7 separate regions of the Homo sapiens genome follow, and all the other regions are linked to region 1. The links are contacts of gene promoters, found by promoter capture Hi-C in blood cells and fetal thymus (Javierre and others, 2016). All regions are on one chromosome and are shown on one strand. Each heading gives the region's core, a stretch centred on a gene start or on the middle of the fragment in contact. The rest is flanking DNA. Distances are from core to core; before and after follow the strand shown.

Region 1 (2,944 bases), core at 1-2,500:
AAATCCGTCCTTCTCCCAAACAATATCATGACGTCCCCACTATCTCAGAAACAAGAATCCAGTCTTGACAAGGTGTAAACATAGAGTTTGTCAGTGTGTTCTTCTGGCCACAAAGGACTTCCAGATATTTATCTCCATCAAAAACTTCCCTGTCTCCCAGGGGAAGTGCAGAGAAACTAAGAACTTAGTTTCTCTAAGTAAAAAAGAAGCAAATGACAAAGCCGAGCGGCGTAGGGCCTGCCACCACTTCCAACCGTTCAGTTCATTCGATACTGCCGGTCGGCTTCCCACTGGAGGTTTTGAATATGGAAAGTGCTGACCTGAAAGATAGGGTCAGGGCTGTAGAATCCTTAAAATAAGCACAGTTTAGAAAAATGCTGGGCTAGGGCACCCAGAAAACTTTTTCACAGGCTGTGGGTAAATCACAGTATCACTGAAGCCACTCCTTTGCCATAAACAACATTTGGAAAAGGGGGAGAGGAAAGGGTGAGCTGGTAACAGGTGAATGGTGGGAAAGTGGAGAGAGACGACCTATCAGTCCTACTGTGCAAATAAATCATGGCCCGGGATCTTGGAGGCCCACGGACACTGTTCTTACGACCCTGCCAGGCCAGCTGGCTAGACCATACCTGCCAGGCTGAAGCGCCGGCCTCTGCGGAATAAGGCGCCTCCCAGAGGCTTGGGAGGAAAAGGGGGGCCTGGGGGAAGGGCAGAGGGAGCTCTCCGCGGAGCAGTGGGGACGGGGCCGCGATGGGGTGCGTCTGAGAGGGCTCTGACGGCTGGAGGGCTGCGGGCGTCCACGGGGGGCAGAGCCCGGCGTCACAGGCGCGGCGGGGTGGGCGGCTCGGGGCACAGACGCCGGCTCCCGAGGGCACGCCGGGTGTCGCCCAGAGGCCTGGATCGCGCGGCAGGAGTAGAGTGCCTGCAGCCGCAGGGGAACTCGGGGGTATTGGGGAGCTCCCAGAAAGAAGCAGCTGGGGCTGCTCCCCCCGGGAACTCGGGATTCGCGGGTCGCGGGAGGAGAGAACCCGAGGTGCGGAGGGCTGGGGAATGTGGGGTCCGGCAGGTGCTGCGCGAAGCTCTCTCTCACCTGCGGAGCACCAGGAAGCCCAAGACGACCAGCAGCAGGAGTCCCAGCGTGCGGGCCGGCCTCCGCCGGAGGCTCCACGTGGTCATCGCGTGTTCTCTAAGCGCGGGGACCCGGGTTCCCACTCCAGTCCGCACTCAGCCGCGCGCGGGAGCCTCGCCGCGGGGGGCGGAGCCGCGCACTGGTCGCCTGGGCAACCGGCCCGCCGGCGCTCATTGGCTGGGGCTCGCGGCTCCGCGCCTGCAGCCCTAGGCCTCGCGCAAGCGGGGGCGGGGCTGGCCGGGGCCGGGGCGGGGCCTCTGTCGGGGGGGGGGCGGGGCGGGGCTGGTGGGCGGGGACGAGGTCTCGGTAGGAGAGGGGGCTGGCGGGGGCGGGGCTGGCGGGGCGGGGCCCCGGCCGGGGGCGGGGCGGGGACAAGGTCTCGGTAGGGGACGGGTCTGGCCGGGGCGGGTCCCCAGTGTCGTGGAGCGGTGCAGAGTCCGCCGTCTTTCTGCTCGCGAGGCGCAGGCGGGTGCGGGAATGCTGCGTACCTGTCAAACGCCGAGGTAAAGTCGCCCCTCGCAGCGCTACATCAGGAAGAACGTACAAAAGGCGTCCGCAAAGCAGGGGCAACCAACAGAATCTTTTAAAACAATTCAGATTCTGAAGCAAACAACTTTTTCAATAACAAATCATCCTGTGAAAAGCCAGGATTTTGAAGAATTGTATCTGGACACATTTCAGTGTGGTTCATGTCTGAGGAGGGGGGGTTCCAAATATTTTCTGTCTTTGGTTTCTGCGAGTCTTACTCTGGCCTTGACTCCAAGGGCTTCCAATTTTTTATTTTAAAAAGGTCCATATAAAACTCTCACATTTTAGGAAAGGAAGAATATCATTCTTATTCTGAAACAGAATGTATGTCCCAAAGAACATGATGTAGTATTTCGGTGCAACTTACACTGTAGCAATCACAAACCCAACTCCTCCCGGGAACAAAATTCAGATTTTACTGAAAGAAACTCGAGGAAGGGCAACGTTTTCCAGAGCATCCGGGTTTGTCGAATGTCTCCCTTGCCGCATGCTTTGAATTCATTTCCTAAACGGGGGCATAGTTTTGAACTTGTAAAGCCGACAGGAACCAAATGAAATTGCAGATCTTGGAACAAAGACACAGACTTGGGTATGAAGTGTCCTTTGTCTAGCGTTAAGCACATATTTAGTCAAGGAGCAAAAGTTAAATCAAAGAGAGGCAAAAACAAACGAACAAACAAGAGGAAAAAAACCCTGGCAGAACTGGGGAGGATAAGCTGGGCTTGGAGCAATCCGGGTCTGACTTAAGCACCGCAAACATTCCCAGAGGCGCGCAGAGGGAGGCCCACTCCCGTGGACGCGCTCCAAGCCCGCTCCTTTTCTCCATTGGGTAAGGCTATGATTGCTTGATGGCTATGAAGTCTGTGATGGAAACATGTTGGTTTAATTGGAATATACCAGCTAGCCCCGAAGCGTGTGGAGAAATTGTCAAAGGCTAGCCCCTTTGCCTGCAGGGGACCATCCGAAAGACATGCACCCCACATTCATCCTCTCACTTCTGGTCACGTTGAACAGTGGCAGAATCTATCAAATATAAGGGAATTCTCAAATGGTTTAAGCAATACAAGCATCTCCATTTTTCTTCAAACGTTAGCAAAAACTTAACATGGGTTGTGAAAACCGTGAACTCCTTGGCCCACCCTTGTATCCTTCGTTTTTATTTGTGCGAGAAAAATATACATAACTGAGTGTTTTCAAAAAAATTTCCCCTTAACCTTGTGGGATGTTCAGAACTAGGGACACACCCTGCTCACAGTCTAGGAACAATTTTACTTTATCTGGGCTTAA
Region 2 (3,177 bases), core at 369-2,868, 290 kb after region 1:
GGGCAGGGGTCTGGGGGTGGGGACTCCGGCTGGTCCTCCTTCATCATGATGACATGGAGTGCCTTGCACAGAGCGCTGGATCCCCAAATGTGTGTGGAGTGGAATGCAGTGGGGCAGTAGGCGGGTAGTGGCTCCTTCCAGGACGTGACGCTGAGCCCACTGGACACCAGGAACCACAGGGCCTCCCGGCAGGCAAGGGAGACCGAGGGCCCCTCCTCTGGGCTGACGCAGACTCTCAGCAGAAGACATGGCTTAAGGAGCAACACATGGCTGGGTTTTGGCCGCCTTGGCTGGGGCCTCTGAGCCATGCCTAAACTGCAGACTTGAGGGATGATGCAGCTCAGAGCTTGCTTTGGTGTCTGGAGTAACGAAGGCTCGTGTTCTCTCTCACGCAGGCTTCTAAGAGTGTGTGCATGCAGGCACGTGCTGCTGTGCGTGAGTGCACAGCATGTGTGCTGTGTGGAAAGAGAGGCTGTGGGTGCCCTTTCCCAGGCGTGCCGCATCACTGAGGCACTGGTCATAGGCAGCATTTGCGCATTTCTGCTCTTGACACTGGGTTGCATACACAGTCCTGTCACACAGAGTCAAGGTCCAGGAACCCACCAGCGTTCTAGAGCCTTGAAGAGTGCTGTCCGCTCCCTGCCTGCCCCACGTTGCACCTAGGCAGACGGCAGTCCGAGCTCCGCTCCCCGCCTGCCCCACACTGCACCTAGGCAGATGGCAATCCGAGCTCGCTCTCCTTTCTCCCTCTCTCCCGGCTAGAGGAACGGAGCTCACACAGCATTGACCCCTGCCTGGCCTCTCTAAGCAGTTGCCAGACCCCCTGTAGCTGGATGACCACTGGACTGGGGAGGCGGTCTCGGCCAATGGTGGTGGGCAGGTGGGATCAGCTGAATGAGTCCCAGGAGAAGCCAAGTGCAGAAGCTGGCACTTCGTGTTTCCTATTGCCAACCAGCAGAGAAAGGCCTTCTTGAGAAGAAGTCATAATTTTTGGAAGAGTGGCTGAACAGAGAAGAAACAAGGCACAGGGGCTGGGGCCATTCCCCAAGATAGGCCCAGACTGTGCCTGTGGCCATGTGCCTCATGAGAGTGTGCCCACCTGGGTCGTGTGAGGCAGGGGCTGGGGTGGGGAGGCAGTTATACTTGTGAAGTATGCATAGTGGGTAGCTGTACACCAACCCACGTGAAGAGAGTGTAGGCCGGAGTTTCCAGGGACGTTTCTGGCCTCACTCCTGCTTGCACGTATGCATGGTACGCGTGTGTACATGCCAGAATAAGAGCATGTGCACCCTGTCTGTGTCAGTGTGTCCCTGCTGTACACACATACACCCCACGTGCCTTCATCTCTGCACCTTCAGGGGTACCCACCTCTGGGCCCAAGCTCTAAATTAGCAGACACACACACACGGCATTCATGGTCTCCAGACTCCTCTACATTTGAAAACAGACAAGGGGAAAAAAAGGGCCAAGAGACAAGACGAGCTAAAAATAGCCGAATATAAGCTCTTCAGATCAGAAAGCTCGGTGTTTTAGTGAGTCACCAGTTTTCCAGACTGAGCATGCACGCACGCACACACACATGCAAACACAAACACCGACATCCCGCCAAGTCACGCCCGCATTGCCGAAGATGCCCTGGGTCCCACACACCCTGTGCTCTGTTCTCACAAGGTAAAATCACCCTCCAAAAGTGGTGATTCTCTGGTCTCTGCTGAATGCTCTCTTGTTGAGCTTGGAAGGCACGAACTATTCCCCAGCTCCCTGCAAACACCTATGCACTTTCATCTCCGCCTTCTCAGCCTCTTCTGATTTGTCTGTGTTTCCTAACCCCAGCCCCACTCCACTTTGTAATGGTTGGCAGAAGACAATGGTCTTTCTGTCCTACTAAGGGTTATGCTGCACTTTTCAGGGGGCCCTGACGCTGGAGAGGTCAGACAGCTCTCTGCACAGCATCTCTGGAGCTGGCCTTTGTGCTTAGGGAGAGGAGACAGCTCCGGACGCCATGCAAGATTTATGAATGTGTTTTGTTAATTGCATTAGTGGCTCTGTGGGAGGATGGTGTGTGCTTTGGCCTTAAACAAGGTGAGCTCAAAAGCGGCAATGGGAGAGGGGACAGGACCAAGGCTGTGTGTATGAGCACCCTGCCATCCTGGGCTGCATGGACCCCCTTGCCCTCTGTTCCCCACGCTCTTGCTGAAGCCAGGGCTCTGTCCCTGCCCTCCTGAGCTCTTGTCTACGTTGCTGCTCAGGCCGGCCTTCCCCTCCTTGGCTCCTTGGGTTGAGAGAGGCCAGACTTGCAGTCATCTTCGATAACTCTATTTCTCTTTTTCTTTCTCTCTTCCTCTTTCTCCCTCATTCTTATCTTTCCTCTTTCTCTTTCCCTTTAAATCCTTCCCTCCGTCTTCACCCACCTTCACCTCTGTCTTTGTGAAATCTAAATCTGCTTTACTCTAAGCGTTTCAATAATTCAGGCTCCACAGTCCCTCAGGTGCCCCCAGCCCTGCTCCTATACTCCCGTGGTTTCCCAACAGATCTGCCTGCTGCGGCTGTGCTCCGCTGGCCTCTGGGGCTCCCGCTCCCTGGGAGTCAGCTGGGCATCATGTTCCTGCACCTTTTCAGAAGATGACAAAGTGCAGGCTTGCAAGGGTGAATGTGGCTGCTAGAGAGGATTCACCTAAAATTCGAAGCCAATCCGAGGGAGGAGCTCAACGAGCCCTGGGTCTAGGCCCATGCAGTGTGTCCGAAGTTCTGATGAGCTCTTCCGGAAGGTGGGCCCTAGGCCACGATGCCCATCTCACTTGGGGTTGCCCTCCTGCATGGCAACCCTGGCATCTTACTTCCTCTTCCTCAGCCCCTTTGTGCCCTGTCTGGGCTGGGCCTCGACCACGGACATGGTTGGGGGCATGGGCTCTGCACCGAGGCTGCTCCAGGTAGAGTCCAGCTCACACTCTCTGGCTACGGGAGTTCATGCCTCTGCGCCTTCATCTCTTCAACTGTCAAAGGGAATAATAATACCTACGTCATGGGGTCCTTTGACATCTACAGAGCTTAAAACAGTGTCTGACAAGCACTTCATAAACGTTAGGTATTGGTACGTGACCCAAGTCAGCCTGCCCAACCTTTCTCTGTCTCCTTTTCCCCTCAGAAACACAGGGATGAGAAACTCTATTTCCTTCC
Region 3 (2,754 bases), core at 40-2,539, 320 kb before region 1:
CAACCCTATCCCAAGGAAGGCCTAACACCGCCTCATTCACTGTACACCACTGTCAAATCCAAGCTTCAGGGATCTTCCGAAACATCTTTTGGGATGCTGCCACAGCAACTTCCTACTGGTGCATGGTAGCCAGATCCTGTCATTTATGTGGCAGATAGGTTATTACCTCTCACCCTTCCTGCTTAGGAGATAAATACTGAGGAGGCATAGCTTCATTGTGACAGGCACTCAGATTCCATGTGGCTGTTATTTTCTTTTTGCAAGGCTTCAAAGGCCATGATAAATATCAGCCAATACCATATTTTTGTATCCATCATTGCACACGTATAAATTGAACACCATCACTATTCACATCCCAAAGCTTCAACTTCTAACTATCTCAGTACAAAAGCCTCAGAAACGGGGTGTGTGTGTGTGTGTGTGTGTGTGTGAGTGAGTGTGTGGTCATCAAGTTATTCATTTATTTACTCAATTAATATTTTTATTTCTTTTTAAAAATTTTTTATTTTTACTGATACATAATATTCTACCTAATTATGGGGTACATATGATATACACCAGGTGTTATCACCACCCTGCTTATTAACAGTAACTCGCTGTGGTTTCTAGTACCTTTGGATGAGTGCTTATCCAGCTGTAAAATCTCATTCCAATAATTTAATTTTGAGAGCCACTCCTGATAACCACTGTCAAGTTTAGGCATTTTAGATTCTGTGGCAAGAGATTATGTGGTATCGATGACTTTGACTTCTGGGAAGATGGAGCAGAAGTACTTTTCCTACAACTTTAGATACAACTAAAAACAGTTTCCTACTAAGTACAACTGAAATTCCTGCACAATATGTTTTTGAAAACATAAAAAGACACTGAAAGGTAGAAAGAGCAAGGCAGACCAATTGGGAGCTTGGGAGAACTCTAAGCATTGAGAAGCAATACCACAGTGAGTTCTCTGAGGTATGCTAATTTTTTAAATCTTATATATCCCAGATTTGGATGCAAAGAAGCCATCAACACCAATCAGCCAAGGAAAAGTCCCCAGCAGAACCCTGCTGTCTCTAGCCAAGTGACCAGGGACACGGACAGCACAGGAGGACTGAGCCTCTTTAGACAAGACCCACCCTACTCCAGCCAAACACCCTAGAAAAACCATGGCTCCACCTTACCCAGACCAGCAGAAGTTGAGTGGAAAACCTTGATTTCTGCCCTTGCAGTGCCGTGATGAAGCACCCAGACTTGTTCACACTCTCAAGGGTTGTGGGAAGGGAGATGGAGGAGGGAGCAGACACTATTATCACTGTTGGGCAGCCGTGTTGACGGAGAACACATCAGAGGCCGGCACTTCCACTTCTGCCTGTCGGTGACAAGGCCCTCCTTCTGCTCCACACTGAGCAGCATCAGAGGAGGCCTAGTGGAAAGCCAGGACTTTCACCAGCACCCAGAGAGAATAACCAGTTCACCCCCAGGGTATCAGTGGAGACGTGGGGAGACAGGACTCCCACTTCCACACAGCAATAACAGGGAGCACTCCCCAACCCGGGTGTCAATAGAGACCAAGTGGGGAGCCTGGGTTTCTGCCTCCACATGACAGCAATGAGCCAGTGAAAACAGAAGGCTTAAATAAGATTTAGAGTCTCATACCACACTATCCAAAGTATCCAGGTTCCAATTGAAAATAATCTGTCCAGTCAAGCAGGGCAGCTCATGCCTGTAATCCCACCACTTTGGGAGGCCAAGGCAGAAGAATCACTTGAGTCCAGGAGTTCAAGACCAGCCTGGGCAATTCGGCGAGATCCCATCTCTACAAAAAATAATTTAAAAAATTAACCAGGTGGTGGTGCACACCTACAGTCCCAGCTACCCAGGAGGCTGAGGCCGAAGAATCACTTGAACAAAGGAGGTCAAGGCTACAGTAAGCCATGTTCATTCCAGCCTGGGCAACAGAGTAAGATCCTGTCTCAGGAAAAAAAAAAAAAAAAAAAGAAGGAAGAAAATCACTTGTCATGCCAAGAAATAGGGAAATGTCAACTTGAATGAAAAAGACAATTGATTATATACTAACACTGAGATAACAAAGATGTTAGAATTATTTGACAAAGATTTTAATGGTCATGGTTAAAATGCTTTAATGAGTAATAATAAACATGCTTGAAACAAATAAAAACATAGAAAATCTCAGCAGAGAAATAGAAGATAATAAAAACTAAATGGAAAGCTTAGAACCAAAACAAAATGTAAATTTAAAAATTAAAATTGAAAAAACAAAAAATACAATAAAATAAATTTAAGAATTCAATTTATTGACTCAACATCCAAATGGAAAGGACAAAGGAAAGAATTCATAAATTTGAGATTTAACATTAGAAATTACTCAATCTGAACAATAAGAAAAAACAGACTGATAAAAATGAAAAGAGATTATGCAAAATATTACGGAACTAGACAAAATATCGAATATTTGTGTCACTAGAGTCCTGAAAAGAGATGAGAAAACGGTTGGTGCTGAAACACTGTTTTTTAAAAAATGGCTACAATTTTCCCAAATTTGTCAGAAGTCACACACCTGCAGTTTTAAGAAGCCAAGTTAATCCCAAATAGGATAAATTCAAAGATATCCATGCCAAGAAACATCAGAGTCAAATTTCTAAAAATTGAAGGCATCTTACTTACATAGGAAAAACAATCCTAATGACAATGTATTTCTCACCTGAAATCATGAAGGCAAGAAAGTATTGGCACACTGTTTCAAGTGCTGAA
Region 4 (2,841 bases), core at 147-2,646, 310 kb after region 1:
GGCTGGGTGGGCCATGGAACACTTTCCAAGGGGTGTCACAGAGCCACGCCAAGTGTGTGTCACCCTTCTCTATGAGGATGTGTGATTAGTGGAAATGAGAACAAGCTTTATTAGTCACTGCTGAGGAGAAACACCACGAAGAATTATCCAACCTGCTAATGGAAGGGTGCACAGGCCTCTGTAGGCTGCTGGAAGGGAGGAGTTTCATGTCCTCTTTTCTTTTTGCCCCCAGAAGACTCATGTTGCTGAGAGCAGATGGTGAGGGGGAAGAGGGTGGGTCCTCATCCTTGAGTCATTTGCTGCCGGGGTACCTTTTTGGGGCTCTGGGAAGTACAGCAAGCATGTTGGACGGATAGGCAGCCTGTTTGCAGGGGGGCGAGGGTCGGCCCGAGGAGGCGCCGCTGGGAATGACTCGTGCCCAGTCAGAAGCTGTAATTGGAGGTGATTAATCTGTGGAGGACAGCGTGGGGAGTCAGCGCTGACTCAGGACCCAGGCGGGCCGCTCCCCTCTCCCACTTCACCTGCCTCAGGCGGCAGAGGGAGGCTGCTTGGAAAGGCTAATGATTCAGAGGCCCTTAAAACAGAAGGATGAGCAGCTGAGGCTCCAGATCAAAGATGTTTTAACCCTTTAATGGTCCAGTGGTAATGTGAAGAGGTTGAGGGTCTTCCCTCGGAGTCGGGGCCCTGGACACGCGAAGCACTTATTTTATTTATTTATTTTTTTGAGACGAAGACTCGCTCTGTAGCCCAGGCTGGAGTGCAGTGGTGCAATCTCGGTTCACTGCAACTTCTGCCTCCCAGGTTCAAGCAATTCTCATGCCTTAGCCTCCTGAGTAGCTAGGACTAGAGGCGTGCACCACCACGCCCAGCTAATTTTTGTATTTTTAGTAGAGACGGGATTTTGCCATGTTGGCCAGGCTGGTCTCGAACCCCTGACCTCAGGGACCCCCCTGCCTCGGCGTCCCAAAGTGCTGAGATTACAGGTGTGAGTAACTGCGCCCAGCCCCACTCAAAGCACTTCCGATGCACCCCATCAGAAGTGGGGGTCAGGAGCTCCTCCACTGCAAGATACTAAGCTAAGGCTTTCTAGTTAAGGGGACCTAGATTTCAGCCCCAAGTAGGCACTCCCCAGCTCTGGCAAGCGGCTCAACCTCTCCAAGTCTGTACAATGAGGACAAAACTACCTACTTCATGGGGACTCAAAGAGATAGTGTTTGTGAAATGTTAGCAGAGCCGGGACTAGACCTGGGATGGGAGCAACCAACGCCTCATCCTGGGAGAGGCCACACTGAGCATGTGTTTTAAAAGAGGCTGCATTCACATTTTTCACCTCTCTTCTATATTCCAAAGATAAGCAAGAAGACCTGGGTCAGAAGAGCCAGCGTGAGTCACGCACAGCTGTCACCAGGGACAGTAAGATGGGTGAAATGAAGATGCAAATCACCAAATATTATTTTACCTATACACACACACACACACACACACACACACACACACACACACACACACACATACAGGTAGTCTAAAATTGTACACAATATACACAGTAAATATTTAATTAAAGAGGCTGTTTTCCTATTGGTAACTGACCTTACACCTTGGGGGAAGGTGCCCAGGTACACATACCTTGAAAACGCCCAATGGCTTTTGAGGAGACCTTGGTGGCAGTACTTTGTTTTGAGTGCAGGATCTTAGCAGAAGTCAGGACGCAGTGGACTTTTAGGGGAGCTGAGTCTGGAATAGTAAAGATGCTCCGGTCCAGCTGCTTTTGTGTGGTCAATCTGAGGGAGGGGGGGGTGGACTGTGTCATGGGGTTGGGGCTAGATCTTGGATGGGTTCATCCAACCCAACACCATGCATGTGCCTTAAAAGAAGTTCTAATTCTTTTTCAACTTTTGTGTACCTCAAAGGAGAAGTAAGAACACTTGACCAGTAAGAAGAGTGAGGATTAGATTTTGCACAGTTGCCAGAATGCAAAATCGAGATGATGGATATGAAATGCAAATGGGCAAAGTTAGGCATGTTCCTTCTTTATCCTCAAGGACGCTGAGCCAGAGCCGCAGCGCGCTCCCAGACAGAGCACAGCTCCCAGGTTCCCCAGCTCCTGTGAGGACCCACAGCTGGGGTGGCCCACACAGAGATTGGGATTCTGCCAACCTCACCCAGAGATGCTCCCTCTCCATTCTCGTGTTCTTGTTTGTTTTCTCCTGCCTGGTACCGTGCCTAACCACATGACCCTTCCAGGGACTCTTGCCGCAAGCTGGCCTATTCACCAGGTGCAAACAATTTATGCAGCACTTCCTACCCGTTCTCCAGTGTTTGTGGTGAAATTGGGAAATGCAAAGGTTATTTTTCTCAGGAGCATCCTGCAGCAGGTCTGGGATTCAGGCCTGTCAAAATTCTCCCCTGCAGATACATCTGGAACATTCCATTAGCAGCAGGAACTCTGACAATCAGGATGGTTTAACTCTCAGAGTGGGGAGCCAGGTAACCAAGACCTTTACCCTGGAGATCATTAGAAATAAAACTGCAATTTTCACATCTCCCTAGAGGTATGTTCCTCCCTGGTGGGAGGGGCTGAAGGCCTATAAGCACCCATCTCAGCCCCAAGAAGCCCAGTTCTTCCAATGTCCTTCAGCCTCTACCAGCTGCAGAACAATAAACAAACTCTGTCCTGTGAAGCTTCCTGCACAGTTAGCATTTGTGGGCTGCAGCCTCTTGCCATTTGATGTGTGGACAACAAAAATCAGCATATAGATTGAGCTGCCGCTATACGGAGGGCAAAACGAAAACGGAGAAGACAGTGTTTCGTTTTTTATTTATTTTTCTTTTTTGAGGAGG
Region 5 (2,835 bases), core at 291-2,790, 420 kb after region 1:
ACGAATTTAGCCCTCTTAAGGACTAGAAAATTCTTTAATATTTGTTAAAAACCCTCTTTTCATGAATGGTTTTAGGAGTGTTGTGGCAGTCTGTCAAGGAAGAATGCTGAACAGTTGCTTTGCAGAGCTTTGATAACTGTTGTAGAGTAACTCTCTTTATAGACAGGATTATGGGAGAGTGTTATATAGAAATTCAAAGCCCCATGAATCTCTGGGAGACGGTGATCACTTATGATCACTTAGCCTTTGGCTGGTACTAGTATACTTTCAGTTTACAGATGGAAATACTGAGGCAGAGAAAAAGAAAATGATGTTTTTAGGGCTTGGGTTAGAAACTGGAGCTCAAAGCTGCATTTTCAGCCAATTAAGCCCATTGTTAACCCATTTAAGACCCATCAATATATAGTTTTTATATATGTATAACATATATTTCTTTATTGCAAAAAAAAGTCACATCAGAGACCTGCATTGTCTCTTGTTCTGATGGCAGTGGTCCTGTTACCAGTTCTGTGGTGGCATCTTCCAAATGTCTGTCTTTAGCCCAGGTCCCTTCCCTGAGGTCATGGCTGATATTTCCAGTTGCCAGCTGAACGTGCACTTGGGTGTTTCATACGCCTTTACGATGTCTAAAGCAGAGTTATTGATCAGCCTCTCCAGGTCTGCTTCTCCTCAGCTCTTCCTCGGTTTAATCACTAGCACTGGTACCCACTGGGGTGTCAGGCCCCTTAATTCCCAGATTCTTCCCTTGCCTTCACATCTTACGTCGAGCCCGCTAGGTAATGCCTGTTAGCTCAGCCTTTGCAACATATCCTGAATCTGGCCACTTTCTGTTGTCTCTATTGCTAACTCTGTGTTCTGAGTCACTGTCTGTCCCACCTTGACTATTGCAGTACCTCGTGGCTGGTGTTCCAGCCCTATCCTTGTACCTTGCACCGTGGACTCCACACACAGCCACCACGGCGAACTGCAGGACACGTAGCGGCATCCTCTCTTTCAGTTACGAACACACACGTGCAGGCGTGTGTGCACATACACAAACACACACACACTTCTGATTAAAACCTCCCCATCGTAACCAGATTCCCATCGTAACCAGAACAGATTTCAAGCTCCTAGATGCCCTGCCTGTCTTTCTTGCCTCACTCTTTTCCAACTGAGATGACCTCCCTTCTGTATCGGGGACACACCACATTTACCCTTAACTTGGGGCTTGCACACATGCCATTTCTTCTGTTGGGAATAATTTTTCTTCAGATCTGTGGAAGGCTCATAATTTAAGATGCAATTCAAGTGTTAACCCTTTAAGGAGCGGAGTAGTGCCTCAGTTGACCCTATTTTATCTTTGTAGTATTTTCAGTAACTGCAAATTTTATTTCTGTGTTTTTAAAGTCTTGACAGTTTGTCTCTTCCTCTGCACCCTCACATGGATGCATAGTCTTTGAAGCTAGCAAAGGCATTCCTGATTAATCTCCAGAAGGGCCATGAGGCAGAGGAGAGGCCCAGGCAGTCCAGGAAGGGTCAAGGCCTGACCGTTGCATGCGATTAAAATCTTGTATAAAGTCGGTCATTGCTTGGGGCAGATGAGAAAGATGTCCTGAGTCCCAGCCTGTTCCTTCCTGATCCCCAGTCCCTAGAATGATGCCTAGTACTCAAGAGGCACTAAAAGAAATATTTGTAGACTGATCGAGAAAGAAATGAATGAGAAGGAAAATCCTCTCCATTCCACTTTCTTAACTCTTATTCAAGTGAAAGGAGCAGGGTCAGGTTGCTGGTTGTCTTGGCGGAAAAGAAGGTGGTTTCTCTGCAGCAATTCGGTCTGGTCTCTCTAGACTCAGGTGATTCCTTTGTTTCAACATTAGAAACCCGGAACAAATGCAGGTGGAAAAGGTGAGCAGGCTGCGTGCTTCCTTTTCATCCGCTTGCTTCTCTTTTGCGTCCCTCTTCCTTTCTTCCTAGACGATTCTGCCTCCCAGACTCAGCAGCTTCCCAACTCTCAGGTTCTGTGGCCCGATGAAGCTGTCTGCCTCCGAAAGAAGAAGAGACATTCTCGTCCTGACCCCTTTGCCCGGCTCTCAGACTTGTGCCACCGCCAGCTTCCGGAAGACCAGACAGCGATTCTCAACAGTGTGGACCACGATGACCCAGGACATGCCACTTTGCTGTGACTCCACCCCACTCTAGGTGTCCCCGGGGCGAGGTTGCTGGGCTCAGGCAGGGAGGGCCACTGTGTGGGGGTGTGTCCTCCTCCGTCTGCCAAGGGCGGCCCAGACCTTTGTCCTGCATGCCCCCTCTTTTGCCAGAGCGGGTGTCTCCCTCCAGATCCTGGCCGCCTGTCTTCAGGACGGAGGGTGGGCACACCTTCCACCTGTGGGTCGAGGTCAGGAAGTGGATTGGAGACTGGGCAACACCTGTCTCCTCCCCTCCGCCCCCTGCTTCACTAGGTTGATTTTTCTCATCTCTTCCAATGTCTTTGGAAGTGAAGAGGAAAGCAATGGCTTTTACTGCTCTCTGCTTCTGTTTCAGTTTTTCAAGTCCTGGAAGAAGGCTGGACTTAATGTCCATCTTCCACACCCCACATATATATAGATATAGATACAGATGCATATGTCTGTAGTGTGTGGGTTTCTCTATGTGTGTATATATATATATATATATGTACATTGAGGCAAAGTGCTGTTGCTCTCTGTGGTCAGTGGAGGCAGGAGGAGGAGGGCAGTGGCCAGCTGGGGTTTGCGAGCAGGGCTGGCTGCACGTTGGCCAGGTGCCTGACATCTGTCTTGGGGGATTCTTTCTCCCAAAACAAGATCCGTGTCTCTCAGCTGAATTCTCCGTGTG
Region 6 (2,899 bases), core at 341-2,840, 400 kb after region 1:
CCCCTGCGAGGCTTGTCCTGAAGGTGAGGTCCCAGGGCTGTGACGGCCTCCATGAGCTGGGCACCTGGATCCCCGGCCTCACGAGGGTGCCTGTGCTTTCCTCCCCAGGACCCCCCCTATTTCACGGTGCTACCAGGCTGGGAGTACAGGCAGGAGGCCGGCCGGGAGCTACTTATCCCCTGTGCTGCCGCAGGGGACCCCTTTCCTGTCATCACTTGGAGAAAGGTACCTGGGCCCTGGAGCCCTGGGTCTGCAGGGAGGTGTGAGGGCCCAGGGAGCCCTGGGGCTGCGGGGAGGTTTGAGGGCCCAGCGAGCCCCGGGGCTGAGGGGAGGTGTGAGGGCCCAGCGAGCAGTTCTATTCTGGACCTGCCCTGACCAGGCTAGATGCCGAGCAGTGAGCTGACCCTGAAGAGCGGCAGGCACTCGGGAGGAGGGCAGCGTGGGCGGGCCGGGGTCTCAGGCGCGTCCTCCCCATCTGCTTCGGGCTTCTCTCCTAACCCCCATTTCTGTTCCCACCCTCTTCCCTGCCCCTTGTTCACCAAGGTAGGGAAGCCCAGCAGAAGCAAGCACAGTGCCCTGCCCAGTGGGAGCCTGCAGTTCCGTGCCCTGAGTAAGGAGGACCACGGGGAGTGGGAATGTGTCGCCACCAACGTGGTCACGAGCATCACTGCCAGCACCCACCTCACCGTCATCGGTACGTGGCCGGCAAGGCTGGGCCGGGCGGCGGGGACAGAGCAGGCTGGCTGGGGGCGGGGTGCTGGACGCTGGGAGCGTCCCCTGGTGGCCGCTGCACTCTGCGGGCTCCCTTCCTAAGTCAGTGCAGCCCTGAACTCCGCGTCCAGCACCGGCAGCCTTTGCCCCCGTGGGCTCTGTCGGGGAAGGGCAGCGTGGCTCCTGTCCTCAGGGAGGTCTTTCTGGGGACAGGCCTGATGTCCACAGCAGCCCACCTGAGGGAAAGAGGCGGCTGTGTGGCTGGCAGGGACTGCAGAGCCTTGAGTTTAAGGGCCTTAGGGAGAGCTGGAGGGCTGGAATGAGGGAGACGGGGACTGTGCAGCATCTCAGATGAGGGCAGAGCTGAGACCTGCAGGCCAGGCCTGGCGTGCGGAGGCTGGGCAGGAGGAAGTTTCTGGGGTTCTGTGTCTGGGCGTTCCCGTTTCCGATTGCCCGAAGCGCGTGTCCCAGGACCTTCGCCTGGGCCCTCTCAGCCTGTCCTTCTGGGTCCTGACGGCTATAATCACAGTCACAGCCAATGCTTTTGGAGCCTTTACCACCAGTTTTAGGTTCTGTTCCAAGTGGTCTGCACAGCTCGTCCTTCACAACTCGGGAGGTGCGAGCTGGGGTTTCTCTAGTGTAGGTTCCTCGAAGCAGAGGTTGCCGTGGCCCGAATGCTTTCTCCGGCGTCACATCGCTAAGAAGTAGTGGGTCCGGGAATCGAAGCCAGGATGGGGCTCCTAACTGCTGTGCTGTGCTGCCCACATGCCAGCATTGGGGTGGGACGGAGTTGTCTTCTGAGGCCAGAGAACCTTACGGGAGGGGCTCTGTGGCTGTGCCTGCCGCCTTAGGAGAGAGTGTTTCTGTGCTCACCAGAGAAGCACAGGATTTGGGCCAGGACGAGGAGGGCTCTGGTTTCTGTTGGACCCATTCCTGATGCTATGTGATCTCCTAGTTGGACTAGACCGCACAGTGGGACAGGCTTCCTGCTCCAACCCCACTAACAAGCAGGGTCAGGGGAGTCGGCGCCTGAGAGCATCCCCGTCGCCCCCATCCCTTCACTTGCAGTATTGTGCTCCGCTGCCATGCGCTTCAGCCTCTCAGGTTCCCCACAGCCAGACGGTGGGCACCCAGCCACGTGGCTGAGTTCTTTTCAGTCTGAGAGGTCTCCACTTGATCTCCAGGCACCAGCCCCCATGCCCCGGGCAGTGTCCGGGTCCAGGTCTCCATGACAACTGCCAACGTGTCCTGGGAACCAGGCTATGATGGAGGCTACGAGCAGACATTCTCAGTTTGGTACGGACCTCTGTGAGTCACCCCGGCATGCTTTGCTCTCTGCTTCTCCCCTCCCCGGTCTTCCTGCAGGCTACCCCGGGTGGGGGGAGGTAGGAGGAGGCTGCAGTTCCTGGCCTGCCAGCCCTGCACAGACTGAGGTGGGTTGAGACAGTGATGAGGTCCTTGTGGGTGACGGGAGGGGTCTGAAGGGACTCTGGGCATGGCTGTGTCCCTGTGGCCTGAGGGGTCTGGGCCTCTCTGTGCCCTCTCCCTGCTCACGTGCTGCCTCGTTTTGCGTCCTGCTTCATCCTCTGGATTCCTCTGGAGCCTGGAAGAGACTCCTGCCCTTCAAGGGCTTTGTGAAATTGCCCAGCCTTAAGTGTAGAGTCTAGTTTTTAGACTAATTTTTTTTGTATTTTTGTATTTGTAATTTTTGTGGGTACATGGTACATACGTTTGTAGGTATGGGGTACGTGAGATATTTTGATATAGGCATGCAGTGTGTAATAATCGCATCAGGGTAAAGGGGTATCCACCCCTCAAACATTTGTCCTTTGTGTTCCAACAATCCAATTATACTCATAGTGGTTTAAGAATGTATGATACATTATTGTTGCTTGTAATCCTGTTGTGCTGGCAAACACCAGGTCTTACTGGTTCTTTCTCACTATGATTTGTACGTGTTCACCCTCCCCACCTCCTGTAGTCTAGTTTTTATTCTGTCTTTTCCCCAGAGGCCACAGAAACTGGTGTGGAGAGGTGATGCTCACTTCCCAGCCTTGGGGTCAGCCCCTGCATTTTCTCTCTAGGACCATGTGTTTCTCGATTGTTTTCATTCCTCTGTTGTCAGTTTAGCCAGATGCAGTCATATGAGGTCTTTGCGCAAACCTTAGGGTAGATACAGATCTCAAAA
Region 7 (3,173 bases), core at 89-2,588, 350 kb after region 1:
GTTTGAAGGTATTATAAATGGCCATCATAGACTTGGGGAGTAGAGGCTCTTTTCCCACAGTGAATTTTTTCCCAGATCCTTGGATGAGGTTGAGGTGGGGTAGAGAGGGGTCTTGGGTAACAATAATGACTTAGGGTCAATTTATTCAGATTTGAAGAAAATAAAGTATTATGACATTTCTTGTATTCTCGAGTTTATGAGCTAAGTTTTATCTTTCCAAGTTTGGAACATGAGTTCTCCTGGCCATGGCTACCCATTCCCTCTTCTCATCAGTAGTCATAAAGTTTGACTTACAGCCCCTCTACTAGAAGCTTCATTCATTCATCCATTAAACATTTCCTGAGCACCTGCTGTATTCTAGGAACTACATTATTGCTAGGGATATGTGTTAGTTATTTCTGTTGCAATGTGTATTATCTCAAAACTTAGCAGTTTAAAGCAACCATATCTATTTCTTACCTCTCATAGTGTGTATGGGTCAGGAATTCAGGAGTGGCTTGGCTGGGTGGTCCCGGCCTGGGGTCTCTCATGGGACTGTAATTGGATGTCCAGCCTGGGCTATCATCATCTGAAGGCTTGACTCAGGCTGCAGGCCCCTCTTCCTCACTCGCTGATGACAAAGGTCTAGGAGGCAAAACTAAAGCCCAGAAGAGAGGAAGGACCTGCTTCCAAGGAGGTTCACTCATGTGGCTGGCAGTTGATGCTGGCACTTGGCAAGAGTCCTCAGTGAGGACTCTCCCCAGGGCTGCTGATGTGTCCTCATGGCATAGCAATGACTTCTCTCCAAGTGAGTCATCCAGAAGACCAAGGCACAATGCCTCTGTGATAAAGCATGGAGGTTATACATCATCACTTCCATGTGATTCTATTGGTGAGTAACGTAAGTCAGCCCTAGGGAAGGGGACTGTATAAAAGCATGTGGACATCAGGAGGCCTGGAGCACTGGGAGCCACAGGATGCATGAATTATTTGTAGTGCTCATATCTTGCAAATAAATTGTTGTGGCTTGGGCTTAGCATATGCCCACATCATCTCCAGGTGACCAGTTCTCCTGCCTAAGAAGCCCTCTTGTTCCTCAGTATCATCACCATACCAGCCTCTGTTTTCTCATCATGGTACCCACTAATACTATTAAGTCCAGGACGTTATACCCAAGTCTGGGCATATTCTATGGCCTGCTCATATTGTGGGTGAGCATATACAAATGACCTCATGCCTTTGAAGGACTCCTAAAAAAATGAACAGGACTATAAGGGCAAAGTATAAATCACAGGTAAGGGGTTTGACTCCTGAAACAGACACAGATACATGGAGTGTCATCGTCCCCGAAGCTCTGTCAGCTCAGTGGCACGTCCCCTGATTCCTCGGTCCTGATGCGAGACACTACATTCATCTGTACTTCTTTCCTGCTAGACTCTGTTCCTGGGGTCAGGGAGTGAGTCTTCTCTCTCTGGGTCCTCTCTCTCTTTCTTCTAAAGCCAGTGCGCCACTGAGGACTCAGATCATACCCTGAAGTCACTGGTTTGAACTGTCCTCGCCAGACGGTCAAGGACCAAGACTTTTCACTGCAGCGGCCCAAGGCCTGACAGCGCACCTCTGTCAGGAGTGAAGTCCCGGGAGTTAGGAACTTCCCGTTCACTTGGCTGAAAACAGCACTTGCCACATAAAGACTTAAATGCTATTGAATGAACCGGTTCCCCAGGACCAAGTCAAGTTCACTCAGCACTTGGGAGAGTTCGCAGGTCCCAGAGAGCCATAGCCTGTCTCATTCTCCTGGACCCAAGAAAAACATCAGAACGACTTTCCTCTCTTCTGGGCTTTGTTTTGCCTCCTAGACCTTTGTTATCAGAGAGTGAGGAAGAGGGGCATCACAAAGATCTGTGGGTGCCAAACCCTGGCTTTAAACATTGTTAGCTTGGATGTGGACACAAGAAATGACTGCCTCTGAGTTTGTCTGTAGGCAAGGGGGCTGAACCCAGGGCTGGCCCTGAGGGTGGGTTGGGGGTGCAGATACAGGAGAGCCAGTGGTGCTGTGGGATCCAGGTGGGATCCTGTACAGCCTGGAGAGAGGAGTGGGGCGGAGTGCCTCGTTAGCCTGTGATTAATACATCATAATATAGTAATCAACAGGCAGAGCCATGTGAATGCAGCATTAGGCTGGAAATAACACCCACAAGAAACACCGTCTGAAGCCTCCCACGGCATCGCAGTTTGGCCTCTCATTCTGTGTTAGCTCAGGTGAGAGCCAGGGCCCCCCCGAGGGCCCTGGAAACACAGGCAGCTTCCTAACTGCTTCATGTGGGAAGCGCTGCTCAGCTGAGGGACCACACCCGGCCTGGGACGCCTGCTCCTGGGGTAAGCTTCGGGGCTTTCCTGACCCATTATTCCCTCCCTCAGCTCACGCCCAAGTGGAAAGAAACTGGATTTCCATGGACTGAGGGCAAGGGTGGTTTGGGGCCAAGGTGGTTTGGGGCCACCTTGCAGGTCTCATCCCTCTCCCTGGGGATTCTGTGCCTAGGACTGTCCTTCTTCCTACTGGTGGGCCGTCCTGACCTATGCATGCCTGGCTGGGGCCCTACACTTGCACAAGGAGGAAGTGCTTGTGCTTTCAATACTGCTTTGAGGTGGCTCCCCTCCCCTTTCTGCTCAAGTGGGTTTAGACCTGGAGACAAGAAAGAACAAAGGACACCTGCCTCTGGTCTTGGCCAGAGGAGATGTTTGTGTCCAGGCTCCCCTCCAGGACCATTGCAGAGTTTTCAGCACAAACTTTAAGAGTGTGCTTTGACCTGCCTTTGTCCTCCCCACCTCTATCTCTGCAGGAGAACCACAGGGCCAGGGAGGGGGACGGGAGCACCTGGCACAGCCCGGACTCAGGTGTGCAGGGACTGGAGTCCCTGGCCAAGCCTTGCCTTCCACTTTCACATAACTTACGCATAGGAACAGGACAGTACCTGATGTTCTAGGGCGTGTGCACCTCTGGAGGCACGGAATGGGCAGTTTGACCCTGCACAACCCCAGAATTCACAAGGCTTTTGCATTTCCAGTATGTGGCAATTGCTCAGGAGAGAAGGAAACAGTATTTCCGAGCAGCCTTTGGTGCAGAGCTGATGGTGTTTGCCATGCTAGGAGCGGTATCCCAAAGGTGAGTGGAGAGAGACGTCCCAGTGAACATA

The links. Contacts are between HindIII fragments. The CHiCAGO score rates a contact against its expected background, and 5 or more counts as called.
Region 2: a contact is called between a fragment that was not itself captured here and the fragment with the promoter of GLB1L2 in region 1, in 6 of 17 cell types (activated CD4 T cells, fetal thymus, naive CD8 T cells and 3 more). The highest score is 9.6, in activated CD4 T cells.
Region 3: a fragment that was not itself captured here is called in contact with the fragment with the promoter of GLB1L2 in region 1 in 1 of 17 cell types (total CD8 T cells); the score reaches 5.6 in total CD8 T cells.
Region 4: a contact is called between a fragment that was not itself captured here and the fragment with the promoter of GLB1L2 in region 1, in 2 of 17 cell types (activated CD4 T cells and total CD8 T cells). The highest score is 8.3, in activated CD4 T cells.
Region 5: a contact is called between a fragment that was not itself captured here and the fragment with the promoter of GLB1L2 in region 1, in 4 of 17 cell types (activated CD4 T cells, total CD4 T cells, naive CD8 T cells and 1 more). The highest score is 7.5, in activated CD4 T cells.
Region 6: a contact is called between a fragment that was not itself captured here and the fragment with the promoter of GLB1L2 in region 1, in 2 of 17 cell types (total CD4 T cells and activated CD4 T cells). The highest score is 7.3, in total CD4 T cells.
Region 7: a fragment that was not itself captured here is called in contact with the fragment with the promoter of GLB1L2 in region 1 in 4 of 17 cell types (total CD4 T cells, non-activated CD4 T cells, activated CD4 T cells and 1 more); the score reaches 7.2 in total CD4 T cells.

What each region holds. Positions count from the first base shown.
Region 1 is chr11:134,330,294-134,333,237 of GRCh38, reverse strand. It overlaps GLB1L2 (galactosidase beta 1 like 2), which reads right to left and starts at 1,250. Exons shown (of 19, transcript NM_001370461.1): 1 at 1,091-1,250. The coding sequence starts at 1,176. RefSeq lists a silencer at 1,101-1,400. The HindIII fragment of the contact is 5,891 bases long and covers 1-2,944 here.
Region 2 is chr11:134,039,578-134,042,754 of GRCh38, reverse strand. It overlaps LINC02731 (long intergenic non-protein coding RNA 2731), which reads right to left. Exons shown (of 3, transcript NR_027276.1): 3 at 1,414-2,993. Among named protein-coding and RNA genes, the nearest start is that of LINC02731, 8.9 kb to the right of the region's middle. The HindIII fragment of the contact is 9,450 bases long and covers 1-3,177 here.
Region 3 is chr11:134,651,484-134,654,237 of GRCh38, reverse strand. No RefSeq gene overlaps it. Among named protein-coding and RNA genes, the nearest start is that of LINC02706, 60 kb to the left of the region's middle. The HindIII fragment of the contact is 1,851 bases long and covers 364-2,214 here.
Region 4 is chr11:134,022,234-134,025,074 of GRCh38, reverse strand. All of the region lies in intron 1 of LINC02730 (long intergenic non-protein coding RNA 2730), which reads right to left. Among named protein-coding and RNA genes, the nearest start is that of LINC02731, 8.6 kb to the left of the region's middle. RefSeq lists an enhancer at 137-939. The HindIII fragment of the contact is 2,577 bases long and covers 108-2,684 here.
Region 5 is chr11:133,908,399-133,911,233 of GRCh38, reverse strand. It overlaps IGSF9B (immunoglobulin superfamily member 9B), which reads left to right. Exons shown (of 20, transcript NM_001277285.4): 20 at 1,957-2,835. The coding sequence ends at 2,165. Among named protein-coding and RNA genes, the nearest start is that of MIR4697, 11 kb to the right of the region's middle. The HindIII fragment of the contact is 4,099 bases long and covers 1-2,835 here.
Region 6 is chr11:133,928,779-133,931,677 of GRCh38, reverse strand. It overlaps IGSF9B (immunoglobulin superfamily member 9B), which reads left to right. Exons shown (of 20, transcript NM_001277285.4): 9 at 1-23; 10 at 109-225; 11 at 544-694; 12 at 1,896-2,007. Among named protein-coding and RNA genes, the nearest start is that of IGSF9B, 27 kb to the left of the region's middle. RefSeq lists enhancers at 570-864, 650-944, 512-1,184. The HindIII fragment of the contact is 8,847 bases long and covers 1-2,899 here.
Region 7 is chr11:133,976,629-133,979,801 of GRCh38, reverse strand. No RefSeq gene overlaps it. Among named protein-coding and RNA genes, the nearest start is that of IGSF9B, 21 kb to the right of the region's middle. The HindIII fragment of the contact is 2,049 bases long and covers 314-2,362 here.